Regions from separate parts of the Homo sapiens genome. Here region 1 is linked to region 2. Evidence: promoter capture Hi-C in human tissues and cell types (Jung and others, 2019). All regions are on one chromosome and are shown on one strand. Each heading gives the region's core, a stretch centred on a gene start or on the middle of the fragment in contact. The rest is flanking DNA. Distances are from core to core; before and after follow the strand shown.

Region 1 (6,606 bases), core at 4,088-6,587, 59 kb before region 2:
GCCCCATCCCAGATACCCTGCCCTTTTCCCAGCCCTTCCCACAGTCTGCCTGACCCTATCCCCTCTCCTTTCCTAACCCTGCCCCTTGTTTCGTTCTCTGTCCATCCCAGTCCTGGTGGACTCTCCCTGGGAAAGAGTCCCTGAATCTCTGGTACGACTGCACGTGGAACAACGACACCAAAACATGGGCCTGCAGTAATGTCAGCGAGAATGGTGAGGGGTGAGGGCGGCGGGACTGGTCTTCAAAGGGGAAGGTAAACCCTTCGTGTCCTCATGGGACTGAGAATTGGGAACCCTCCCCCAACAAAGTTGGAGTGGGCGGGGTCCAGGCCTGAGTGGCTGAGTGCCTAGGGCTAATGCATGTCCCGCCTGTCTGGATGTACCTACCTCTTGTTTTTTTTGTTTTTGTTTTTTGAGACCGAGTTTTCCTCTGGTTGCCCAGGCTGGAGTGCAGTGGCGCAATCTTGGCTCACTGCAACCTCTCCCTCCGGGGTCCGAGCAATTCTCCTGCCTCAGCCTCCCGAGTAGCTGGGACTGCAGGTGTGTGCCACCACGCCTGGCTAATTTTGCATTTTTAGTAGAGACAGGTTTCACCATGTTGGCCAGGCTGGTCTTGAACTTCTGACTTCAGCTAATCCACCTGCTTCAGCCTCCCAAAGTGCTGAGATTACAGGCGTGAGCCACCACATCCAGCCAGTACCTCCTGTTCTGAAGAGGCCATATAGATAAAAGCATGCTATAGGTTTAAAGAATAGAGAGGGGAGGCCAAGGCGGGTAGATCACGAGGCCAGGAGTTCGAGACCAGCCTGGCCAAGATGATGAAACCCCGTCTCTACTAAAAATACAAAAAAATTAGCCGGGCATGGTGGCGTGCGCCTGTAGTCCCAGCTACTTGGGAGGCTGAGGCAGAAGAATCGCTTGAACCCAGGAGGTGGAGGTTGCAGTGAGCTGAGATTGCACTACTGCACTCCAGCCTGGGCAACAGAGCAAGATTCTGTCTCAAAAAAAAAAAAAAAAAAAAAGAATAGAGAAAAATCTCCCAAGATTCTGAGAAGACAAGAGTATTTTTCCAAAGCTCTAAGGAGATGGGGCTGGTGCTCTGAATGGATGCCTGGGACCATTTCATCCAAATTCCAAGGGGATGGGGCTGAAACCACTTAAGGTTCTAAAGGGGTGGGGCCAGGTGCATTGGAGTTCTAAAGGAATAGAGCTGCATCTATCTAAAGTTCTGTGTGAAAGATTTAATGCAAAACTAAGATTAAAGGAAGTGGTCTGCTCTCACCACTTCTATTCAACCTTTTACTGGAGTAGCCAATGCAAGAAGGCAAGAAAAAGAAATAAAGGGCATGGGAAATAAATTAGGAAAAAGTGTCTCTATTCCCAGTAAACATGTTGTTTATGTAGAAAATCCATTAAAATTCTGCAAAGCAGACAGACACAGTGGCTCACACCTGTAATCCCAGCACCTTGGGAGGCTGAGGAGGAAGGATCACTTAAGCCCAGGAGTTCAAGACCAGCCTGGACAACATAGGGAAACCCTGTCTCTACAAAAATTTAAAAATTACCCAGGTTGTGGTGGCTTGTGCCTGTGGTCCCAGCTACTCAGGAGGCAGGGGTGAGAGAATTTCTTGAGCCCTGAAGGACGAGGCTGCAGTGAGCCATGATTATACCACTGCACTCCAGCTTGGGCAACAGAGCAAGACCTGGTTTCAGAAAAAAAAGAAAAAGGAAATTGGCAAAGCAACTACTAGAACTGAGAAGGGAATATAGCAAGGTAACAGGGCTCAAGGTCAAAATAAGTGATACATCTAAGTATCTAGGCTTGTATGGGCCTAAACGGGAGCAGGGATGGGGCAGAGAAGGGTCACATGGTGAGCAAGCAGGTGAAGCTGGAACTCTGGACCCACGGTGATGTCCCCCTCTGTGTCCTCCTTACTGCAGGCTGGCTGAAGGCGGTGCAGGTCCTCATGGTGCTCTCCCTCATTCTCTGCTGTCTCTCCTTCATCCTGTTCATGTTCCAGCTCTACACCATGCGACGAGGAGGTCTCTTCTATGCCACCGGCCTCTGCCAGCTTTGCACCAGTGAGCACTGCCCCTCCCCAACCCTAATCCCCCAAGAATTGAGCAGAAGGGAGTGGGGTGTGTCAAGATGCTGGGGGCCCTGAGAATGGGCCTCTCGTAGAAAAAAACAACTTTCAACACCCCACGAGCCACAAGAGGTGCCTCCGTGGGCTACATCTCTGCCCCCAGGGATTGCTGGGACTTGTAGTTTTCAGTGGCTAATGATAGTTATGGCTTGTGCGTATGAGTCATCAGGGAACTCAGAGTTTCAGGGAGCCGGGGCTGGGGAAGGAGGTATAGGTAAATAGTTTTGGTCCCAGGGATCGGCCGTGACGTGGGGGGATAAACTAATTAGTACCTCAGTAGAGAGCTCTAAATCATAATAATAATGGTATTTATATCAGCCAACCGCTGTTTCTTGCGTGCCTATTGTGCATCAGATACTTCAAGAAGTTTTGCGTACTTTTTAATTTTTTGACTTAAGGTGCAAAGGGCTAACTTAATCACAGTCAGTTTGGGGAACATTATAGGTTCTTGCAAAGCTTCTCTCTTGGTTTATGAATTTACTACTGCATGTTTGGCTTATAGAAACACACTCAAAAATATTCCTTGGATGGATAGAGAGATATTATTGGACCTAGAGAGATTAAATCAGTTACCTAAGGCCGCGCTACAGTTGCACGGCGCTGGGCGGGGGGGAAAGAACCACAACTCCCAGCAGGCAGCGGCGCTGCCCACGGGCCCTCCGGCGCTTCTTTGCCCCCATGGGATATTGGGAAATGTAGTCTTGAGGGGGCACTGCATGACGTGTGGTTTTCATCTTCCGCAGGCGTGGCGGTGTTTACTGGCGCCTTGATCTATGCCATTCACGCCGAGGAGATCCTGGAGAAGCACCCGCGAGGGGGCAGCTTCGGATACTGCTTCGCCCTGGCCTGGGTGGCCTTCCCCCTCGCCCTGGTCAGCGGCATCATCTACATCCACCTACGGAAGCGGGAGTGAGCGCCCCGCCTCGCTCGGCTGCCCCCGCCCCTTCCCGGCCCCCCTCGCCGCGCGTCCTCCAAAAAATAAAACCTTAACCGCGGGCTCTGCCTTGATCTTCCTTCCTTCCGCCTCCAGGGACCCAGGCTGCGCACGCTTGACCTCTCCTGAACCTAACATGGTCCCCACCGCCAGCTGCTCAGCCCTCAGAATGCCCATCTCCCAGCCCCCAACCCCTTCCTCCCGAGGACACAGGAGCCGGGACCCCAGGCACCTTTTCCCTCCCACAGACCCAAGAGCCTGGGCCTTCCCCGCTCAAGGCCCAAGAGACCTCTGTGAGGCACCTGAATCTAGACCTTCAGACACTTCTGGGAAGAACCTGGATTCTGGGTCCCAGCAGACCCTGTTAGGATAGGAAGCCTGCAGTGACCAGTCCTGTCTCCTTGCTCAAGCTTCTGTCACTCTGTTGCTCTCTCTCTCTGAACCCCGGGCATAGTGTGTGTTTCTAGATTGTCGGACTCTTTTTTTCTTTCTGTCCAGGTTGGAGTGCAGTGGTACGATCTCAGCTCACTGCAACCTCCGCCTCCCGGGTTGAAGCGATTCTCCTGCCTCAGCCTCCCGAGTAGCTGGGACTACAGGCACGAGCCACCACACCCGGCTAGTTCTGGACTCTTTTTTCTTTCTACTAACTTTCCATTTGGGAAGACAGCTTTCTTTTTCCCTCTAGGAAACCAGTCTCCCTCTCTCTCTTTTTTTTTTTTTTTTTTTTTTTTGAGACGGAGTCTCGCTCTGTCACCTAGGCTGTAGTGCAGTGGTGCGATCTTCACTCACTGCAACCTCCGCCTCCCGGGTTCAAGCAATTCTCCTGCCTCAGCCTCCTGAGCAGCTGGGATTACAGGCGCCCACCACCACGTCCGGCTAATTTTTGTATCTTTAGTAGACACGGGGTTTCACCATGTTGGCCAGGCTGGTCTTGAACTCCTGACCTCAGGTGATCCACCCACCTCAGCCTCCCAAAGTGCTGGGATTACAGGCGGGAGCCACCGCGCCCAGCCCAGTCTCCCTCTCTAGGGACTGAACATTTGGGGTCCTAGAGAGGGAGACTTCCCCTGTCTCCCCAAAGGCTGCCTCTAGCCCATATGACACGTTAGCAAAAATTAGGAGGCACCCCTTCTTCTGGCTGACCCAGCCCCACACCAGGATACATGTAGGGGTATGGGCTGGGTCTTACAGCCACCCACCCGTGGCTGTGTTCCTTTGTGCAGTTAACAATCTGCACAGGCCGGGTGCGGTGGCTCACGCCTGTAATCCCAGTACTTTGGGAGGCTGAGGCAGGTGGATCACCTGAGGTCAGGAGTTCGAGACCAGCCTGGCCAACATGGTGAAACCCCGTCTCTACTGAAAATACAAAAAATTAGCCAGGCGCGGTGGCAGGCGCCTCCCAGCTACTCGGGAGGCTGAGGCAGGAGAATCACTTGAACCCAGGAGGCGGAGGTTGCAGTGAGCCAAGATCATGCCATTGCATTCCAGCCTGGGCAACAAGCGCGAAACTCCATCTCAAGAACAAAAAAAAATCTGCAAATCTGCACAATCGCACATGGCTACGCTATCTCCTCTGTTCATCAGGCCCTGGGACTCCTCTGGAATCAGATCCTTCTAAGATCCTCTTCTATGACTGTCTTTGTTTCACCGACCATGAACCCAGCCTCTTTTTAGGACTACAGCTTTCTCTGTCTGGGACCCCAAGACCTAGCTAGAGTCCCTCCCCTCTTTCCAGGATTCAAATGCTTTCCTTCCCTCCAACTCCTGCAGCCATCCCACTCATCTAGATTTTTAAAAATAATTTTTTAACCACTCCTACAGAGCAGGGTTACCCTAAAGGCAGTGCGTTAAGAGTAGCCTCATCCAGACTTATTAAACATGATTTATTACTTTGGGACAGGAGACGGGAGAAATTGATAGACCAATAAATATTGCACAGGCTGCTGGTGGTGGGGAGATCCAGACCGAGGTAGTTTCTGTAGAAAGGGTGAAAGACCTGGGCGAGGAAGGCACCTGAGGTTGCCGGGAGCCAGGTTGGGAGCGAGTCTTGGTGGCGAGGGTGGTTTCTGGTTCACCTACCTAGCACAAGGTCTCCAACTCCTTCAGCCTAGACACCCTGATCAGCAGCTGACCAGTTGGCCTGCCATTTAAGCAGCAGCAATTGATAGCAAGATCAGGTTTCCTTTAGAAATTCTTATTGGTTCCTTCCCTGCAGCGACAACCGGCTGCCCAAAGTTGATGGAACCCAGCAGCTGTCACTGGACGTTTGCCAGGAGGCAGGGCTAACGGCCTTGGTGCACATGATGGGCAGTTTGCCCGGAGCGGGCTGAAAAAGACAATGATATATAGTCTCGGGAGGGCGCAGCTTTAACTCTTCTACCTGGCGGTTTACAGAAGCCAGAGCTGAGCAGCTGTGATTGGCAGACACCCTCAGCTCCTCAGCCAAACCACACTTGGATGTTTATGGTGAGGGTGGGACTAAGAAATGGAACAGAAGCAGAGCTAAATCGCTTTGATTGGCTGTTCATCGAAGGGGCGGGGAAGACTTAACAACTGCTAGCTGCTTTGATTGGCTGCTTTGCTTAAGCACACAGTGCAGCAAAAATAATCACCTGTCAGTTATTGGAAGTTGGAGTGAAAAGTATAATAACCGTAATTGACAGCCTGTCGTGAAGGAGGCGGGGCTTAGTTCCTAGCCTGCTGACTGGGCAGGGAGGTAGGTTCTACTCAGGAGATGTTACTGCTGGGCGTGGCTTGCGGGGGCTCGGAAGTGATCGGAGCCACTGGGTCTAGTTTGGGGAAACCCGGGGGTGGGTACAATCCCATGCTGGGGGTCAGGGCCTGCAGATGCGCCAGGGCCCGAGTTCCGTTGAAGGTCACCTCACAGCCTGACTTGGCTAGGAGCCAGTTCTCCACCTCCGACCGGAGCCACCTGGAGGTCTCTGCAAGGGGAGAGGCAGGTGTTCTGAGGTCACACTGAGATCGGGGAAGATTCGAGGGAGCAGCAAGGAGGGGCGTAGGGCAAAGAACAGGAAGGGCCTGGGTTTGGGAGAAGCCTAGGAGTGATCTTGAGGCTTGGAGGGGAGCGGAACAAGGCCCAGGAGGGTCGAGAGGGCCAGAAGGCCCAGCTCTGGGGCTTTCGTCTGGGGACCAGTCAGGGGCTCTTGGGCAGGGAAGGTGGGGGCTCCTGTAGGCAAGGGGACCACCTGGAGCCCACACAGGGAGCGCGCAGGATCTCTTGTAGGGAGAGTGTCAGCTCAGGTAGAGGAAAGAATGACAGGAGGGGGCCGTGCCATGGAGCCAAGACTCCCAACCAGGCTGAGGTTAAGAAAGGGCTGTCACATCAGGCACCAAGATCGGAGTCTGGATTCGGAGGTCCTGTCTGCTGAGGGCCGGGGTCTCTTCGCAAACCCGTCAGGTTCACCCGTGGGAACTGGGGGTGGGGACGCATCTCGCTGGGGCGGGGCCTCGCGGGGGTGTGGCCCCTGGGGGCAGGGTCCCAGGGCCACGTCCTACCTTCGGGCG
Region 2 (6,808 bases), core at 3,754-6,253:
AGTGATTCTCCTGCCTCAGCTTCCCGAGTAGCTGGGATTACAGGTGCATGCCACCATGCCCGGCTAATTTTTGTATTTTTAATAGACAGGGGGTTTCAGCATCTTGGCCAGGCTGGTCTTGAACCCCTGACCTCGTGATCCACGATCCACCTGTCTCAGCCTCCCAAAGTGCTGGGATTCAGGCGTGAGCCACTGCGCCCAGCCTGATGTCTGAATTTTTAAAGAATATTTTCCTTAGGTCAGGCACGGCAGCTCACACCTGTAATCCCAGCACTTTGGAAGGCTGAGGCAGGTGGATCACTTGAGGCCAGGAGTTCAAGATCACCCTGGTCAACATAGCAAAACCCTGTCTCTCCTAAAAATACAAAAAAATTTTACCTGGGTGTGGTGGCTCATGCCTGTAATCCCAGCTACTCGGGACGCTGAGGCACGAGAATTGCTTGAACCTGGGAGGCAGAGGTTGCAGTGAGCAGAGATCGTGCCACTGCACTCCAGTCTGGGTGACACAGCAAGACTTAAAAAAAAAAAAAAAAAAAAGACGCCTGGGTTCTGGTCTGGCCTCCTCCACCTTCAGCAAGCCGCACTACCTCCCTCAGCCTCAGTCTCCCCATCTTCAAAATGGGTCTAGTAATCCCTAGTCAACAGGGCAGTTATGAGCTAAGTCAAGGGCTTGGATAAGTGATCCAAGCAAGGTGGTAACAATATGTTTGCAAAGTCCAGGGCCTGGAGCCAAGCCCAGGATTCCCACCACAGCATGATGCAGCCTCCCTCTGATATCTCTGACCCATGGGCCAAAGTCACCCTCTGTTGGATTTGTCTGGCCTATACAGTGCTTTTAGAGATATGTTTTGAAGGCCAGGCACGGTGGCTCATGCCTGTAATCCTAGCACTTTGGGAAGCTGAGATGGGAGAATTGCTTAAGACCAGGAGTTCAAGACCAGCCTGTCAACATGGTGAAACCCCATCTCTACTAGAAACACAAAAATTAGCCAGGCGTGGTGGCAAGCACCTGTAATCCCAGCTACTCGGGAGGCTGAGGCAGGAGAAACGCTTGACCTGGGAGGCAGAGGTTGCAGTGAGCCAAGATCGTGCCACTGCACTCCAGCCTGGGCGACAGAATGAGAGTCCATCTCAAAAAAGAAAAAAAAAAAAAAAAAAGAAATATAGTCTGAATCTGTGGCTAAAATTTTAAAATGAGACATCTTGCCTGAAAACTCCTGAATTATGGCTTCTGTTGAAAAGATCAGCACATCTGGCCACCCAGGCCTATCTTCCTATAAGGCAGGAGTGGGCACAGGTAAGAAAAGGTTACCCTGAATTTATGATTCCTGCCAGGCCCCAGGAGGCAAGAGATCGCAAACTTAGCACTGGCTCTCGCAAAATTCCTCCCAGGAGTTTGTACAGGTCCCAGCAAAACACCATGGAATAAAAATCATTAACAGCGAACATTTAAAAGTAAAAGTATCAGAGATGGGACTAAACACTTCAGTCATTGAACATTGATTGACACAGCACTTCCTACCTCATCCCAGATACTGTGCTTTATTAATACCAACCTCTCATTTGAACCCTATGACATAGGAACTGATTATCTCCATTTTACAGATGAGGAAACTGAGGCACAGGGTAGTTATGTGATTTGCCCAGAATCCCATAGCTGCTACATGGTAGAGGCAGGGTCCAAATCCTTACACTCTGATTCTAGAGTCTTTATGTGTTTTGACACCAGGCAGTGCTGCAAAGTCTCAGTAAATTCTCACAATGACCTGATCACAACTTTACAAATGTGGAAACCGAGGTACAGAGAGGTCAAGTCACATGCACGGGATCATGCTAATAGAAACTAGCAGATTTGGAGCCGGGCGCGGTGGCTCATGCCTGTAATCCCAGCACTTTGGGAGGCTGAGGAGAGTGGATCACCTGAGGTCAGGAATTCGAGACCAGCCTGGCCAATATGTTGAAACCCTGTCTCTACTAAAAATACAAAAAATAACCTGGCTTGGTGGTGGGCATCTGCAATCTCAGCTACTCGGGAGGCTGAGGCAGGAGAATCGCTTGAACCTGGGAGGTGGAGGTTGCAGTGAGCCAGAATCATGCCACTGCCTCCAGTCTGGGCAACCGAGCGAGACTTTGTCGAAAGAGAAAGGAAAAAAGAAAGAAAGGAAGAAAAGGAAGAAAAGGAAGAAAGGAAGAAAGGAAGGAAAGAAGAAAGAAAGGAAAGAAAGGAAGAAAGAAAGAAAGGAAAGAAAGAGAAAGAAAGGAAGGAAGGAAGGAGGAAAGGAAGAAAGGAAGGAGGAAAGGAAGAAGGAAAGGAAGAAAGAAAGGAAGGAAGGAAGAAAGAAAGGAAGGAAGAAAGGAAGAAAGGAAAGAAAGAAAGAAAGAAGGAAAGAAAGAAAGAAAAAAGAAACTAGCAGATTTGGAATTCAAATTCAAGAAGGCTGGGCCAGGAATGGTGGCTCACGCCTGTAATCCCAGCACTTTGGGAGGCCAAGACAGGCAGATTATTTGAGCCCAGGAGTTCAAGACCAGCCTGGTCAACATGTGAAACCCTGTCTGGACTAAAAATACAAAAATTAGCAGAGCATGGTGATGTGCACCTGTCTTCCCAACTACTCGGGAGGCTGAGGTAGGATAATTGCTTGAACCTGGGAGGCGGGGGTTGCAGTGAGCCGAGATCATGCCACTGCACTCCAGTCTGGGCAACAGAGCGAGACTTTGTCTCCAGAAAAAAAAGAATCCCTAAGCCTCAGTTTCCTCATCTGTAAAGTGGGGCTGCTGAGAAAAGTAAGTAGGTGAAATGCTTAGGGTAGTGACTGACACATAGCGAGTCTTGCTGCTGTTGTGTTAATTTCCTCTGACCCCAGAGCCCATGCACTGAACTTATGCATCCTAAAATAAGGCAGTTTGGGCACACCCTGCAGAAGGAAGCCTGTGAGAGGGTCTCCTGTCATAGCTACTCTGCCACAACCATCCCCCCAAATAAGGAGTCACAGCAAGGCGCCTACCTCCAGAGGGGTGAAGTCATGATTGACCAGGAACGCCAGAATGGCTGTGGGAACGACCAGGAACTCCACTCTGAACGTGTCATGGTTCCCATCGTAAGTAGCTTTGAACTTGCTATAAATCAACCAGACCGTGGTGAAGGAGCAGGCTATGTAGACCACCTGAGGAGGGGGATGATGAGAAGGGGCCTCAACTCACAGGCCTGTGCCCCAGTAGGCTCAGAGCCCGGAGTCCAGGCCCCTCCCTCAGACGCAGGAGTCCAGACCCCCAACCCCTCCTCCCTCAGACCCAGGAGTCCAAGCCCCCAGCCCCTCCTCCCTCAGACCCAGGAGTCCAGGCCCCCAACCCCTCCTCCCTCAGATCCAGGAGTCCAAGCCCCCAGCCCCTCCTCCCTCAGACCCAGGAGTCCAGGCCCCCAACCCCTCCTCCCTCAGACCCTGGAGTCCAGGCCCCCAGCCCCTCCTCCCTCAGACCCAGGAGTCCAGGGCCCCATTCCCTCCTCCCTCAGATCCAGGAGTCCAGGCCCAGCCCCTCCTCCCTCAGACCCAAGAGTCCAGGCCCAGCCCCTCCTCCCTCAGACCCAGGAGTCCAGGCCCCAGTCCCTTCCTCCCTCAGACCCAAAAGTCCAGGCCCCCGGCCCCTCCTCCCTCAGACCCAGGAGTCCAGACCCCCAACCCCTCCTCCCTCAGACCCAGGAGTCCAGGCCTCAGTCCCTTCTTCCCTCAGACCCAAGAGTCCAGGCCCCCGGCCCCTCCTCCCTCAGACCCAGGAGTCCAGGCCCCCAGCCCCTCCTCCCTCAGACCTAGGAGTCTGGGACCCACACCCGGCTCCTCTGCCTCAGTGGGGGCCAGAGAGGTGGGGTGGAGCCTCTACCTTCATACACGTGTTGTAGAGTGAGATGTAGTTGGTGAAGAGGTCCAGATATCGGGCAGTGAACACCACAGCAAACAGGACCTGGCTCTTCCCTGAAATTCCTGTGGTCCAGAGACAGAGAAAGAGAGAGAGAGAGAGACAGAGAGAGAGAGAGAGACAGACAGACAGACAGACAGACAGAAGGAGAGAGGAAGCTGGGGGTGGGCTGCATGGGCAATAAACTAAGGCAGGGCGCCCGGGACCAGCCTGGAGGCAGCTCTGGAGTGCAGCTGTCCCCGGAGGCCTCCCCAGCCCGCCCCGCCTGAGCAGGGCCCTTTCCCACGGACCACAGCCAGGGGGCAGCCCAGGCCCCCGAAGCTACTCCAGCCCGAGGCTCCGTCCCAGACTAGGCCTCATGGCTACCCCTGGCCCCTCAGGGTCCTCCCGCAGTCTGGACCTGAGGTGAGGCCTAGGGAGGACCTTCCCTGACCTCAGGCCCCGGATCCGGTCACCTCCCTCCCGTTCCCTTCCTGGCCGCCACGGTCCACGTCACCAACTCACAGCCACCTCCCCGCCTGCCATGGTTCCCTGTTCCCGGTCCATGAACCCTCGGGCTGCCCAGATTGGGGCTGGGGGTGGCTGAATTGGGGGCCTAAAGCCATTCACATGAAACTGTATGCACCCCCGCCAGTCTGGGGAAGGGAGCTGATCCCCTGGAGACCCAGAACCTAGAAGAGAGATCCCCAGCAAGCAGTGGGGGTGGAACCTGTGCCCCTAGTGCCCCCAAACCCTTCCTGAGTCCTGCGACGTCCCCCAACCCCCGCCCGCAATCTCTCTCCTTCGCCAGCCCTGGTGGGCCTCTCACCGGCGCACGAGCGGGACTTCCAGATTTTGAGCAGTAGCAAGATGATGGCGAGGAGGTGGGAGAGGTCTCCCAGGAATCGGAAGAGATTCATGGCTGGGGAACCCTGGCAGGGCTGAGCGGGAGGGAGGCAGGCTGGCGGGGGGGTGCCCCCCGAGGCTGCTGGTCTGAACGGGTAGCTGGGCTGGGGGGACGGAAGAGGGACCCTAGGTGCGCTCCGCTCCGGGGAGGGGACTTTGGGAGGGGGAGCAAAGGCTGGAGCTGGCGGCGGAGCTGGAGCCGGGAAGAGGGAGGAGAGCGAGAGGGGGAGGAGTCCGGGAGGAGAGGCTCCGCCCCCGAGGGCGGGGCCTGGATCCCCGGCGCCCCCTATCGCCCACCTCCTGCTTTGCCGTGGCGGCGCTAAACGCACCCCCAAAGCTGCCCCATAGGAACTTGGGAGGGTCGCAGGGTTCGGAAAGTGCCAAATCCAGCACCGGTTCGCCCAGGCAGTCTGTGTCTCTGGAAGAGACGCAGTCCAGTACACCAGCCTCAGCCCTTGCAGGGATGTAGAGACTGCCCTCTGAGCTTGAAAAATCCTGCAGGGACCCGGAGGCTCAGCTGCTAGCTTTTGCAGCTTTCAGGCACTCTAACTCCAATCCCCCAGAAGACAAGAAAGATACCCCACCTACTTCCTCCCCTAGACCCAGGACTCAAGGCCCCAGCCCGTTCGTCAAACCCAGAAGTCTGGGTCCCCAGCCCCTCCTCCCTCAGACCCAGGAGTCCAGACCCCCAGCCTCTCCTCCCTCAGACCCAGAAGTCCAGACCCCCAGCCCCTCCTCCCTCAGATCCAGGAGTCCAGGCCCAGCTCCTCCTCGCTCAGACCCAGGAGTCCAGGCCCCCAGCCTCCTCCCTCAGACCCAGGAGTCCAGGCCCCCAGCCTCCTCCCTCAGACCCAGGACTCCAGGCCCCCAGACCCTCCTCCCCCAGATCCAGGAGTCCAGGCCCCCAGCCCTTCCTCCCTCAGACCCAGGAGTCCAGACCCCCAGCACCTCCTCCCTCAGACCCAGGAGTCCAGATCCCCAGCCCCTCCTCCCTCAGACCCAGGGGTCCAGGGCCCCAGCCCCTCCTCCCTCAGACCCAGGGGTCCAGGGCCCCAGCCCCTCCTCCCTCAGACCCAGGGGTCCAGGGCCCCAGCCCCTCCTCCCTCAGACCCAGGAGTTCAGGGCCCCAGCCCTTTTCCCTCCTAGGACGCTGTTCCTTGGAACTTAGGGTCCCACCCCCACCATCTTATGGATCAAACATCCTAACCTTAAGAATCTAGATCTACAGTTTCTCCCTTTACGACCCACAGATTTAGGCCCTGATTCTCTTCTTTTTCAGGAATGTGCACCTCACCCTGTTCTCCCAGACCTTGAGGATGAAGGAAACAGGAGCCTCACCCAGGAGGCTCAAGGCCAAAACTCTGACCCAAACTACCTCAGGAGCCCCTGGCCCTGGCTTCCCCCCTGCTCCAGAGTTTCTGCCCTGCCCACACACACACACCCTCTTCCACCCTCAGAGGCCCCGGTGTCCTGCCCCACGCTCTACCCCAGAGCCCCACGGGTGGCTTTATAAAAGTGCCGGGCCCAGCCCTCTAGCAGGAGGGGAATGCTGGGCATCTGGGTGTGGGACCCCCGGGGAACAGCCTGTGGTCTGGACTCCTGCATCTATGAGGGGACAGACGTGGCTTCCCTTCCGGATGATGGGGTACCCACAGATGATGGAGGCCAGGGTCCCTCAATAAAAGAAGGGGTGCAGGCGTGTTGATTTCTTCAGAGGGCTGGAAGGACGGGGTGCCCAAGGGTGACATCCACGAGTCTTGGGTCCCTGAGGGTGGCTTGTACGGGGGAGAGTCGGGATGACTGAGTCCTTAAAAGAGACTCCGACTTGGAGGCGGTCCCCAAATTCCTGGGTCCCAGTAGAGAAGGGGACTCCTGGGTCTGAGGGAGGAGGGGCTGGGGGGTGGGACTCCTGGGACCAGGGTCGAGACCTGGTTTTCAGGCCTGGCCTTCTGGGGCAATAAAAGCCACAGCTTGGGTCTTAGTGTGGCGAACACTGAAGTCAGGGAAAGGC

Evidence for each region. Contacts are between HindIII fragments. The study calls those that stand out against the background at their distance.
Region 1: a fragment that was not itself captured here is called in contact with the fragment with the promoter of KDELR1 in region 2 in 1 of the 25 tissues and cell types used here (hippocampus).

The regions. Positions count from the first base shown.
Region 1 is chr19:48,327,411-48,334,016 of GRCh38, forward strand. It overlaps TMEM143 (transmembrane protein 143), which reads right to left. Exons shown (of 8, transcript NM_018273.4): 7 at 6,598-6,606; 8 at 4,946-6,023. The coding sequence ends at 5,809. It overlaps EMP3 (epithelial membrane protein 3 (MAM blood group)), which reads left to right. Exons shown (of 5, transcript NM_001425.3): 3 at 111-213; 4 at 1,942-2,082; 5 at 2,891-3,143. The coding sequence ends at 3,060. Among named protein-coding and RNA genes, the nearest start is that of EMP3, 5.2 kb to the left of the region's middle. RefSeq lists enhancers at 1,992-2,141, 5,848-6,583, 5,974-6,063, 6,074-6,123 and a silencer at 6,464-6,606. The HindIII fragment of the contact is 4,580 bases long and covers 3,048-6,606 here.
Region 2 is chr19:48,386,548-48,393,355 of GRCh38, forward strand. It overlaps KDELR1 (KDEL endoplasmic reticulum protein retention receptor 1), which reads right to left and starts at 5,004. Exons shown (of 5, transcript NM_006801.3): 1 at 4,721-5,004; 2 at 3,877-3,977; 3 at 3,006-3,164. The coding sequence starts at 4,811. RefSeq lists an enhancer at 3,831-3,970 and a silencer at 4,841-5,160. The HindIII fragment of the contact is 17,535 bases long and covers 1-6,808 here.